Regions from separate parts of the Homo sapiens genome. Here regions 2 and 3 are each linked to region 1. The links are contacts of gene promoters, found by promoter capture Hi-C in blood cells and fetal thymus (Javierre and others, 2016). All regions are on one chromosome and are shown on one strand. The core of a region is centred on a gene start or on the middle of the fragment in contact, and the rest is flanking DNA. Distances in the headings are between cores, read along the strand shown. Region 1 holds the start of GLI2 (GLI family zinc finger 2). Region 2 overlaps GLI2 (GLI family zinc finger 2). Region 3 overlaps GLI2 (GLI family zinc finger 2).

Region 1 (3,811 bases), core at 672-3,171:
TTATGCTGCTTGCGAGGGAAACGTTTACTTTCAAATTCTCCTACATCCCCCAGAGCCTCGTCTGCAAACAGCCTATGAGCGTTTTACAACTGCTCCCTTTATCTGAAGCTGTCGGGATTAAACCTTCACACGCCCGGCAAGAGCGGCGGAGAGGGGGCCCGGGACACCGCTGCGGCCACCGAGCTGCAAAGCCCGTGCCAGAGGTCGCGCACCGAGCGGGATGCCCGGGCTGGGGGACAGAGGGACGCCTACAAGACTCCCAGGGCGCGGGACCAGACAGTAGGGACAGGTCTACTTTTCCAGCTGGGATCAACTCTAGGAGCCACAGAACAATTACACAAAAGAGAAGGTAGTGGAAAGAGGCACCCTCGGGGGGGCTCGAGGTCCCCGAGAGCCTCAGCGACCGATCACCCAGGGTGAGGCGCACGGGCTCCATCCCCAGCTCCCCGCGCGGTAAAAGTCGGGTTTCCTAGGAAATGACAGCAGTTACCGCCGGGCTGAAAAGGCGCCGAGCTGGGTGGACTCCCAGCTCTCCAGCGCGGCGGGCGCGCTCACACTCACACACGCAAGCACACGCTCCCTCCCAGCTCCCCGCCCCCGCCCCGTCCGGGGAAAAGACTCCCCTCTCTAAACCCTTAATAGGATTGGCGCCCAACTCTCTCCGCGCCTCTCCCCATCCATCACATACAGATCAAGTTGCAGTAGTGGATTTTTCAAATTCCTCAGCAAATATACTTGTTGAGAGATTGTCGGGGGTGGGGAGAGACGATGAGTAGGGGGGCAGGGATGAAAGTGAGGTGGAAGGGGGAACCGGAGGACCCGGCAAAGGATTACGTGCGGATCCCTTTGGGAAGTCAAGCGGATCTCAGGGCCGAGGGCAGGAGAGGAGGAGAAGAGAGGCAAAGAGGGGGGGCCGAGGAGGAGAGCCCAGCAGAGGGGGAGGGGGCGGCCGGGCCGGGCGAGGGGGAGGAAGGATTGAGGAAGGAAGAAAGAAAGGCAGGGCTCCGGGACGCGCAGCGCGGAGAAGTGGAGTTCGAAGTTCTCAAGTGGCTGGCTGCAGCCCCTCCGCGCTCAGTACGCCCGCAGACACGCTCCCATGCCCACCTACGGCAGCTTCGGAGCATCCCAGCCTCCGATCCCACCCTCCACCCCCTGAAAAAACAGACCCCCGCCGGCGCGCGGAGGCCGGCTCGCTGTGCACCCCGAGAAGAGTGGTGCTCTCCCCCAGGTAGGGAGAGGGTGCAACATCGACCTCTGGCCACGAGCTCCAAGCCCCAGGACTCTCCTTACGTCCCCGCCCTGCTCGTCCAGAGCCCCAGGCGGGGTCGCGCCTACTAGCCTCTAGTCCCCCGAAGCCCAGGGCCCCGATCCCAAGGCCTAGGCGCCGGTACCCGGCCGAGGGACCCCCCGAGACGGCGCAGCATCCCAGTCGGCCCGCGCTTGGCCGAGGTGGGAGGCGCTTCGTCACGAAAAGCAAGCAAAAGAAGGCCAATGCAACTTTACCGAGAGAGACAAAAGTTTGCCTCTAGCACGCAGGTGGCCTCTCGGGCGCCGGGCGGTGGCTGTGGGCCCCCATCCCACCTTGGCTGGCGCGGCGACCCTCGGCTGGCTGCCTTGTGCCGGGGCTCCAGCCAGCCGGGGCGGGGCGGGCCAGGCAAGAGAGGGGACCGAGAGGCGGGCGGGCGCCGCGCAGCCCCTACCGCCGGCGAGCAGGCGGCTCCCCGAGGCTGCGGCGCGCCGCGCGGCCCAAGCTCTTTCCTCCGGCTCCTCCTGCGGCTCCTGGCCTTCCTCCGCGTTCGCAGTCGCAGCCGCCGCCGCCGCCCGCTCCTCCTCGAAGTCTCATTGATGGGAGTTTGAAAAAAAGTCCGCGGAGCCGTGCTGCCTCGGCTGGCAAGCGCCGGCACTTCTGCAATCCATCAGCGCCGCCGGACTGCGCAGCGCCCCCGCGCGCACGGTGCGGGCACACCCGGGCCCCAAGAACCCGCCAGCCAGCCCGCCCGCTCCCTGCCGGGGGACGCAGGGGGACCCGAACGCCGCCGGGGCGGGGGGAGGGGAAAGGGGGAGCACAGGGACTCTCCCCACCCAGCACCAAGGAAAGAAAACGCACCTACAAGGAAAGTTCGAGAAAGGAACCAAAGGACGCGCCAATCTCCGACACTTTTTTTAGACGACTAGGTGTGGGGGGGGGGGTTGGGGGTGTCGCTAACTCAAGTCAGATGAGCTCCGGAGCTGAGGGGCAAGGGCTGCTCTGTTTTCAATCTCTGAAATCCCCCCGCCCTCCCCACCTCCCACTTCCCTCCTCGGGGAGATGCCTGGGTCGCTGTTCCCAGGGCGCCCGCTTCTCTGGACGCCCGCGCGGAAGCCGGGGACGCCAGAGAAGGGACGCGGGGGCTGGGTCCACGCGGACCCTCTTCCCGCGGGCAGCGAGCGCAGGTGCCGGGGGTCCTGAGGCGTCCCCCGCCGCCGCTAGCCCTCGTCGCCATCTGAGCACACGCTGGCGAGAAACGAAGCAGCCTTCTAGGTTTGGTGCATGTGGCTTGCAGGGTGGGTTTTTGTTTTGTTGTGTTGTGTGTTTTAGAGACTCCACTCGAGCCGCTGAAGCCAGATGGAAGTAATCAGAACCCAACAACAACAGAGAAAGAAGGAAGAAAAAACTCCTCATTGAATTTTCTAGCCAAAGTGTATATGGGGCTGTGTGTGAAAGAACTTGCTTAAGCAAGCTCAGTGAGGAGCCCTGGGCCCTCAAGCCACACCACAGCCCGGAACTGGGCCGCCAGGCTTGGAGGAGAATTGGGGGCAGCTGGCTAAAGTGTCCTCCCCACACCCCCGGGCCTGCCACCCTCTCCAGGGCCCCTGGGCCTCACCCGAAGAGGGTCTTGGGGGGAATTTCTGGTTTTATTCTTCCTAACGTTTGTAGAACACTCTACCAAGTGCCAGGTGATGTTATATTTTCTTTGTATTATTGGACTTTCACAGCTCTGTAAGGAAGGTTCTCTTCTCGTGTTTTTACAGGTGGGAAGTCTGATGCTTTAAAAAGTTAAGTAACTAGTCTAAGGTCAGAGCACTCTGCCATCCTCCCAGAGCTTCGGGTGGTTGTACTGTAAGTTCAGTTAAATTTGCCCTGTTGGGCCGGGCGCGGTGGCTCACGCTTGTAATCCTAGCACTTTGGGAGGCCGAGGCACGGGGATCACCTGAGGTCAGGAGTTCAAGACCAGCCTGGCCAACATGGTGAAACCCCGTCTCTACTAAAAATACAAAAAATTAGCCAGGGATAGTAGCGCGCGCCTGTAATCCCGGCTACTTGGGAGACTGAGGCTGGAGAATCTCTCAAACCCCTTGGGAGATGGAGGTTGCAGTGAGCCATGATGGCGCCACTGCACTCCAGCCTGGGTGATGGAGCGAGACTCTGTCTCAAAAAAATAAATTAATTAAATTAAATTTTTAAAAAATTGCCCTGTTGAGGTGGGTGGAAGTGTCTCTCCCTTCAGCCCCTGTTCCTAAAATTGCATTTTATTTGAAATGCAAGGGACCCAATGCTACCCTCCCTGAGGGGATGTGACCTACACAGGCCCATTTCACCGGTGCAACCCTTTTTGTGGGTGGCTCTCTCCATATACCTTTTATCCTCTGCTAACTTTATTCTTTTACTTTTTAATCAAAGAGGATGCATTAGAACTTCATTCCTTAAGATCCTCCTTCCTCCTCCTGACATTCACTTATATGATGGAGCAACAATTTCTTCTTGACCTAGAGAAAAAAATATGCAGAAAAATATTAGAACAATTTGATGCTAATTTTGTTTGGGGGGAAA
Region 2 (3,811 bases), core at 830-3,329, 240 kb before region 1:
CTGTCCCAGAGCCCCTGCTGTGGTCTGCCCCACCCAGGTGTGCCTGTGGCCAGCCACCTCCAAACATGATCCCCCCGGCCTGGCTGACAGGCCAGTCTTGATGCTGCGGCGGGGGTGGGGAGAAGGCCACTCACCGTGCACTTGTGGGGCTTCTCGCCCGTGTGTCGCCGCATGTGCACCACCAGCATGTACTGCGCCTTGAAGGGCTTCTGCTCCCGCGTGCAGGCCTGCCAGCGGCACACAAACTCCTTCTTCTCCCCGTGGATGTGCTCGTTGTTGATGTGCTGCCGGAGGGACATGCCCAGAAGAGGGTAAGCAGGGCCAGAGGCCCACAGACCACCCCCTGCTGTCAGCTGACCACCTGCACCGGCACCCCCCCAGCCCTCCCCGACCTGTGTGCAGACCATCCACCCTGCTGACCACACCTATTATGTTCAGACCGTGCTCCTCATTGCCCATCCCACCTACTATACGCAGACCACTGACCCAACAAGACCACCCCTACGAGCCGGGCCACGCCTCCTCATGAATCATCACTAGCTGCCCTTAAATGAAGGCCTACTGCGTGCCGCTTATCTGCCCTGCATTTTCCAATCAGTCCTCAAAGTGACCGTCTATATTGGGCAAAGCCATCCTGTGCACCGCAGCCTGGGCTCTGGTGTGATGACGCTCCCAGGCTGCAAACAGTAGGCACTAACCGCAGCGAGGCAAACGTGCCCGTAGTGGGTGCATGAGAAGCCTCTCCTAAGCTTGCCCCTATTGTTTCAGAGGTTTGTAAATAACATATTTTGTTTCAATAGAAAAATAACACATGCTTATCTCTATTTTTGGCATTGACCCATGAGATAATGGCTTTGTCCCCTTTCCACAAAGGCACAGAGAGTTCAGTGGCCTGCACAGGGCCCTGGCAGTCGGCGTGGTGGAGCCAGAACTGACCTTAATGGTGGGCTCTGGGCACTGTGTGAAGCTTATCCTGGGAGAAAACGGCCCCAGGCAAGTGAGTTGGGACAGCCAGCGCAGCACGACTAACCCTGCCGCGTATCTCGGGTAAGGCTGGGTTTACTTCCCCAGCCTGGTGGCGAGGCCAGGACACTCAGGTCTTAGAGGCCTCCCCTTCCTCCTCTGTTCTCAGTTTCCTCCCCCGTCTTCACTTCCTCCCAGCCCCCCTCCCACAACCTCTAGACCCACACTGTCTAATGCAGTGACCACTTGCCCCATGTGGGGCTCTTGCACACTTGAAATGTGGCTGGCCTGAGCTGGGATGGGCTAGAAGTGCAAACTACACACCAGTTTCAAAGACTTAGAATGGAAAAAAAAGAATATACAATATCTCAATAACTTTCTTTTCTATTGACTACCTGCTAAATGATATTTCAGATATATTGGGCTGGATAAAAAATATTAAAATTAACTTCACCTGTTTCTTTTTACTTTTAAATGCACTCCTAGGAAATGTAAATTACATGGATAGCTGGCATTTGTGGCCTGTAATATTGTTCTGCTGGACATTCTGCTGTGGAACTCTGCCACCAAAAGAGGCTGTCCCAAGAGCCAAGCATCAGGCACTGGCAGCACCTTGCCCCAGAAGACAGAAAACTGCCAGGCCCTCATGCCCTGTGCGACTCGCCCAACTGTCACGCGTACAGATGCCCCTGCTGGAGCATGTGAAATCTCCAGCGCTTTGAACTTCCAGGGAAATCTTATCATATTAGCCTCACTTTCCATTTTTAAAGCCTTTCAAATGATAAAAATGCTTCCTGACAATGGCTTTCATTTTTTTCTTATTGGTTTACTTAGCAACAAATTGTTAATAATCGACCAGGGGCTCCAGCTCGCCTGTGCGCCTGCTCCATCCATCTTTCCAGGGAGCAGAGAGAAACAGAGAGAGACAGACAGACAGAGCTGGGTGAAGGGGTCTGCTTTTTCCAGGGCCTGGTGGAGGTGGCCACCTATAGCTCCAGGACAGTCCAGGGCACAGGCAGAAGCCCCTGGCTAAAGCCCTCCTCCCAGTTTGGGGACCCTCCGCATTCATCTGAGGAATTCCGTGCCTGCTCTTTGGGGCTGACCCACTTATCACAGAGCACGTCTTTGACATCCTCATCTGCATGCTCTGGCTTTGGCCTTCCCCTGGCCTGAGAGACTGTCCCTCTCTCCTCCTTTCATCTAACTGATTTGTTCTGCAACTCACAGCTCCACGGTCCCTGCTCCATCTAGGGCTTGTTTACCCCAAAGAGGTGGTACAAGTTGAAAAATTAAGTTTGAGATCCAGAAGGGGTTAGATAAGACCCTGCTTCACCAGCTGCATTCGTTTGCTGGGAAATTCTGGCCTTCTGGGTGAGAACTGTGTTTGGGAGGACAAACTCCAACACAAAAGAAACCTACGGTATTTGTGAGCAAGTTGCATAAGTGGAAGAAGCAGAGGGAGTCGGCGTGTCCTAAATGCTAAGTTCACAGAGCTGGGGAGAAGCAAGCGCCTCTGGACAGCTTCTGAATATGAATCGGAGACGCGTGCATGTGTGTGTGTGCATGTGTGTGCACGTGCGTGTGTGTCTGCTCTTCCCAGCAATCGAGCTACTAATTTAGTGGGTTCATCTTTATAGACACTCACTCACCAAGGAGCATGTGCTGGGGAGTTGGGAGGTGGCTTTCTTGAATTTAAGTTCTTCTCTGGATGGAGAAGAGAGAACCACTCAGGGCTGGTGTGGGGAACAGGCAGGAGGAGGAAGGAGGGAGCTGCTAGGTGCGGAATGTCTGCAAGGCACTAAGTGCTGACAAACATGATTGACCCTCCTGTGGGGTAGCATCAACCCCCTTTATAGGAAACAAATGAAGCTCACAGAGGTGGAGTCACTTGCTCAGAACCACTCAGCTGGTTGTGGTGGGGACAGGTTTGGAGCCAGGTGTCTCCCGTGCCAAGCCTCTGCTCTGCACATTGCACACATCACCCCTAACTGCCATATAAGGGACGCTGCAGTATGAGAGTTTGGAATGAGGACCAAGAGGCATATCCTGAAGGTCTCGCCGGCTCCCATGGTCATCTCTAATCACCTGAGCTGTCAGTACTCAGGCACTGTTAAGCAACCTCCTCTCTGATCTGGGTGTAGACGCCCACCTGCACCCATATCCACTGGGTATCTGTGAATAGTCCCCAAAAGGAAAGGATCAACTCCTTCCTTCATGGGAGAAGCTTCTTTCACTTATTATTGTGTAGATACTGGCTGGTTTAACTAATCGTATTTCCCTCTTTGCACTGGCTATTAGGAATCTCAGAAAAAAAAAATGTGTATATAGAATATAGCTCAAAGCACTCGGTTTTTAATACTAACTCTATTCCTGGTTTCACTTTATTGTTCTCTTTTCCCTGACAGTCTCATTTACTTATTTTTTCTTTTAATTGTTTGTATTACATATGTATTGGAAGCCATCTTAAAAACAGGCAGGACACACATAAGTAATTATGCCTCCCACTTGCAGGGGATGTGGCCCAGGCATCTCTGGGGGTCTCTTCCTCCAGCCCCTTCTGTCTAGTAGAGGCCCTGGAAGGCTCAGCATCCTGCATGGCCTGGGCCGTGCCCCGGTTGGCGGGCTGCTGGGGTTCAAAAGCTTACATGCACCAGCTGCTCCTGGGTGTCGTACTCCTTGGTGCAGTCTTCCCAGTGGCAGTTGGTCTCATAGATGACCACCTCAGCCTCCTGCTTACAGTCATCCCTGTCCAGATCTTCCTTGAGGTCAGCCAGCTGCTCCTGGGAGAGGGGAAGGGCACACCCACATGAGCCGTGTCCAGACACCTGGCCCTGAAAAGAGGTCGCTG
Region 3 (3,811 bases), core at 953-3,452, 210 kb before region 1:
CTCCTTCATGTCCCATTTAACAGACAGCACTGCTGAGTCCCAAAGCACCAGGGGCATGGCCACAGTGAGGCCAGCGGCAGCAGCGGGTGGGAACACAGGCACCCGGATGCCCCCAGACTGGTCCAACAGCTGTTGCTGATGAAGAGAAAAGGAGGCCCAGTCACTTGGGGATATGAGCCTACAAATCTCACCACCTGCCTGCTTCTCAGGGTGACTTATGACCTCAGTGGCAGCAGGCGAGGGGCCACAATCCCATGTGGCCAGGGCCTGCCTCTCCCCTCTGTGTCCTGTATGCCACTCTCTGGTCCTTGGCCATGCTTGCCTCTCACAGCTTTGCCCTTTGATGTCTGCACCTCCAGTCATGCCCTTCCCCTCTTCATCCCTTCCCCCAGTTAACTCCTGTTCTCCTCCCAGAGGTGCCAGCTCAGGGACCTCTCACCCAAGGTGCCCCCTAGCCCCAGGTCAAGGTCAGGATCCTCCTACGGTGCTTCTGTGTTAGGTGGCTCCTTCCTCTGACCTGAGCACGTCCATCTCAGCTGATGACCAGATATCCTCAGCTGTGAGCTCACAGGCCTCCTGTCTCCTGTATCCGTTTCTGTTCATACGCTGGCCCTGCACCTGGCTCCGCACATGCCAGGGACATACAGCATGCTCAAATACGTGTGTGCTGAATGAATGAATGAATGAATGAGTGAGTGAGGGCGTGAACGAATGAATGAATGAGTGAGTGAGGGTGTGAACGAATGAATGAATGAGTGAGTGAGGGTGTGAACGAATGAGTGAATGAATGAATGAATGAATGAATGAAAGAGGGCGTGAACGAATGAATGAATGAATGAGTGAGGGCGTGAACGAATGAGTGAATGAATGAATGAATAAAGCAGGGAGCGTGTCCAGGGAAGAGCACAGACACTACTGCAGAAGACATGGGTCCCGGCTCACCTCAGCTCACTCCTGCCTGGGAGCACGTATGTGCCGTCTCTGAACAGTTACGACAGTGATCTTACAAATCTGTTGTGAGGAGCAGAGGGAAGGCACGTGGGGGGCTCATGAGATCTCCCAGAGATATGTCCATGTTCTATCCCCGGAACCTGTGAACAAGAACTTACTGGGAAAAGGGATTTGACAGATGTGATTAAGACAAGGATTTGGAGATGAGGAGATTATGGGTTACCTGAGTGGGCCCTACATGCCATCATGGGGTCTTTAGACAGCAGAGTAAGATCTGAGACACAGAAGATGAGATGGCCATGCGACAGGGAGACAGAGACTACAGGGAAATGGCCAGGAGCCAAGGAAAGTTGGCAGCACCAGAAGCTGGGAAAGGCAAGGACAGAGTCTCCCCTGGGGGTCTCTGAGGGTGCACAGCCCTGGTGACACCTCGATCTTGTTCCAGTGATACTGATTTTGGACTTCTGACCTCTGAAACCGAGAGAACATATTTCTATTGTTTGAAGCCACTGAGTTCGTGGTACCGTGTTACAGCAGCCCCAGGAAATGAACTCGTCATGGAAAGCATGTTGCATTGGCCTAGAGTTGGCCCTAGGGAGGTGGCAGACATCACCGTCACTAGTGCCATCGTTCTTCTGAGACTAAACTCTTAGCAGGGCTCCTATTTATTGCTCGGAATAACCAGGTTCCAGTAGATGCTCCCTTTGAGGCAGGCTGGCAGGGTAGGGGAACTCCTGTGCTGGGTGGAGGAAGGTGTCTGAGTCCTGCGTTCCCATCCCCATGTGCACAGGGCTGTGGAGCGGGCTTTCCCCCCTGCCGCCTGGATTTCATGGTCACTGACTCCCCATAGCCAGAATCCACCCAGCACACAGCCCCAGCATGCCATTTCCTCCTGCCTCGGAACCGCTGGCTTGTGTACACCAGCCCTGCCTTTGGGCCAAGATGCCTACCACCCACCAGGATCACAGGGCCATGGGTGGGTCCACGGAGCTCCAGAGTGGAGACACTGGGACCTTTTTGCTGTTGCGGAGCTGCTCAGGACCAGGTGCCCACTTCCTCAGAAATGCTGGGCAGGCGTCCTCTGGGCCCACTGACCTGCTGGAAAGGAAGCTGGAGTCCCCAAAGCTTGCCCTGCATCTCTTCCTCCCCAAACTGGAACTTCTTACTGCCAGGACAGGGCGTGCATGTGTCTGCTCTCCCAGGGCCTCCCTGGAGAGCAAGGCCAGCTCCTGCCACCCTCGGCTCTACCGACAAATAGAAACAGAGCTCCAGAACGCTCCTCTGGATGGAATTCAATCTCCTCCCCAGGGTTTTCGTTTGTTGGTTTGAGTTTTGTTGTTTGGTTTTGTAGGTGAAACTGTACACTGGCAAGCTTGCTTACCATGTTTCCCATACATTTGTTTTAAAAAGTTCTAGAAATCAAGTCCTTTCCAAAATGTACTAAGGGGATTTGCATTTTTTAAGAGCCATACAGCAAATTCTTTTGGAAAACAATGGAGAACTGTCCCTTCCTCAAACTGAAGCGCAGTCCATGTCTTTTATCAATCTGCACTCTCCTGTGTGTCTGGTGGCAGTCTGTCCTCATGGGGAGGCTCTGTGTACGGGAGCTGAGGCCGCAGTTTGCAGACATTCATTGCTGATCTGTGTCTGCGTCCACACGTCACTCCCCCGGATCAGCTGATGTTTACTGAGCATGGGCCTCTGATGGCACTGATGGTGGGGAGCTGGGGGTCTGAGGCCGACTTGGCCAGGGCCCCACATGCACCCAGGTAGTGAGGGAGCAGGTGTGGGGAGCTGGGGTTCTGAGACAGACCCGGCCAGGGCCCCGCATGCACCCAGGTAGTGAGGGGGCAGGTGGCTGCAAACCTGACTGACAAGTGCTATGCCCCACATTCCCAAGGTCTACTCTGAATCCACAAGTGCACAGATCTCAGCAGACCCCCTGAGTGCCCATGAAGCCATGGTGATGGTAAGACAGGGTGCTGCTGCTTGGCAGGCATTCCCAAGACCAGTTACGAGCTCAGGAAATCACAGGCCCTCAATCCCATAGTTCACACTGGTGCTTTGGCCGAATCACCATGCCAGGACCTCTGGGGTCACAGAGAGAGAATGGACACTGACTATAGCCTTCTAACAGTATACAAGGTGCTGGAGCAGGAAGAGGGGTGGGAGGAAAATAATTCACCCACTCTGTTGGTGCAATCTGAGAGGGCTTCCTGCAGGAGGTGGCATCTGAACTGTGCCCAGACTCTTATAAGAGAATGGAATGGAGGTGGTGAGTAGTATAGGCCTGGTGTTCTGAGATGGGAGAATAGCTGAATAAGGACATGTTGTATTGGGGAACAACCACTATAGTCCAGAGGCTGAAGGTCTGACCAGACATCTGGGTGGGAGGAGAACATGCAGGGAAAAACATAGTAGAAATGTCGGTAACCTACCTGAGCTATTTTACAATGGGAACTTCTCTTCACCCAAACCTGCCATCAAGGCAGTGAAGAGACCAGGCACGAACTGGGAGAGGATATTCACAACACATGTTGCTAACCACATAATGAGTAACCTTAGTGTGCAAAATACTTATTCAAATAATGGGAAAAAGACGACCTCATAGAAAAATGGGCAAAATAGCCCAACAGACATTTCCCAAGAAGGAAACATTAGTGGCCCATAAGCATGTGAAAGAACACTCAAGGTTCATTAGCAATAAGGGAAACAGAAAATTAGAATCACAGAAAAGAGCCATTTTGGCAAAAATTAAAATGTAGAGGCCATCACCTCCAAAGTGATGGGGCAAGGATATCACAAGGATACAGGGCAAGGCCAGCTCTCAAACTCTGCTGGTGGGAGTGAGTGTTAGCAA

Evidence for each region. The method cuts DNA at HindIII sites, captures the fragments that hold promoters and counts their contacts. A CHiCAGO score of 5 or more calls a contact.
Region 2: a fragment that was not itself captured here is called in contact with the fragment with the promoter of GLI2 in region 1 in 2 of 17 cell types (erythroblasts and endothelial precursors); the score reaches 5.9 in erythroblasts.
Region 3: a fragment that was not itself captured here is called in contact with the fragment with the promoter of GLI2 in region 1 in 1 of 17 cell types (megakaryocytes); the score reaches 5.8 in megakaryocytes.

The regions. Positions count from the first base shown.
Region 1 is chr2:120,733,978-120,737,788 of GRCh38, reverse strand. It overlaps GLI2 (GLI family zinc finger 2), which reads right to left and starts at 1,921. Exons shown (of 14, transcript NM_001374353.1): 1 at 1,504-1,921. LOC124906073 (a long non-coding RNA gene) reads right to left here. Exons shown (of 3, transcript XR_007087219.1): 3 at 2,939-3,747. LOC124907881 (a long non-coding RNA gene) reads left to right here and starts at 128. Exons shown (of 2, transcript XR_007087221.1): 1 at 128-1,228. RefSeq lists enhancers at 1-216, 217-717, 1,836-2,005, 2,645-3,292. The HindIII fragment of the contact is 6,148 bases long and covers 1-3,811 here.
Region 2 is chr2:120,974,907-120,978,717 of GRCh38, reverse strand. GLI2 (GLI family zinc finger 2) reads right to left here. Exons shown (of 14, transcript NM_001374353.1): 9 at 3,609-3,743; 10 at 135-284. Among named protein-coding and RNA genes, the nearest start is that of GLI2, 240 kb to the right of the region's middle. The HindIII fragment of the contact is 2,220 bases long and covers 970-3,189 here.
Region 3 is chr2:120,939,860-120,943,670 of GRCh38, reverse strand. All of the region lies in intron 3 of GLI2 (GLI family zinc finger 2), which reads right to left. Among named protein-coding and RNA genes, the nearest start is that of GLI2, 210 kb to the right of the region's middle. RefSeq lists an enhancer at 1-519. The HindIII fragment of the contact is 247 bases long and covers 2,079-2,325 here.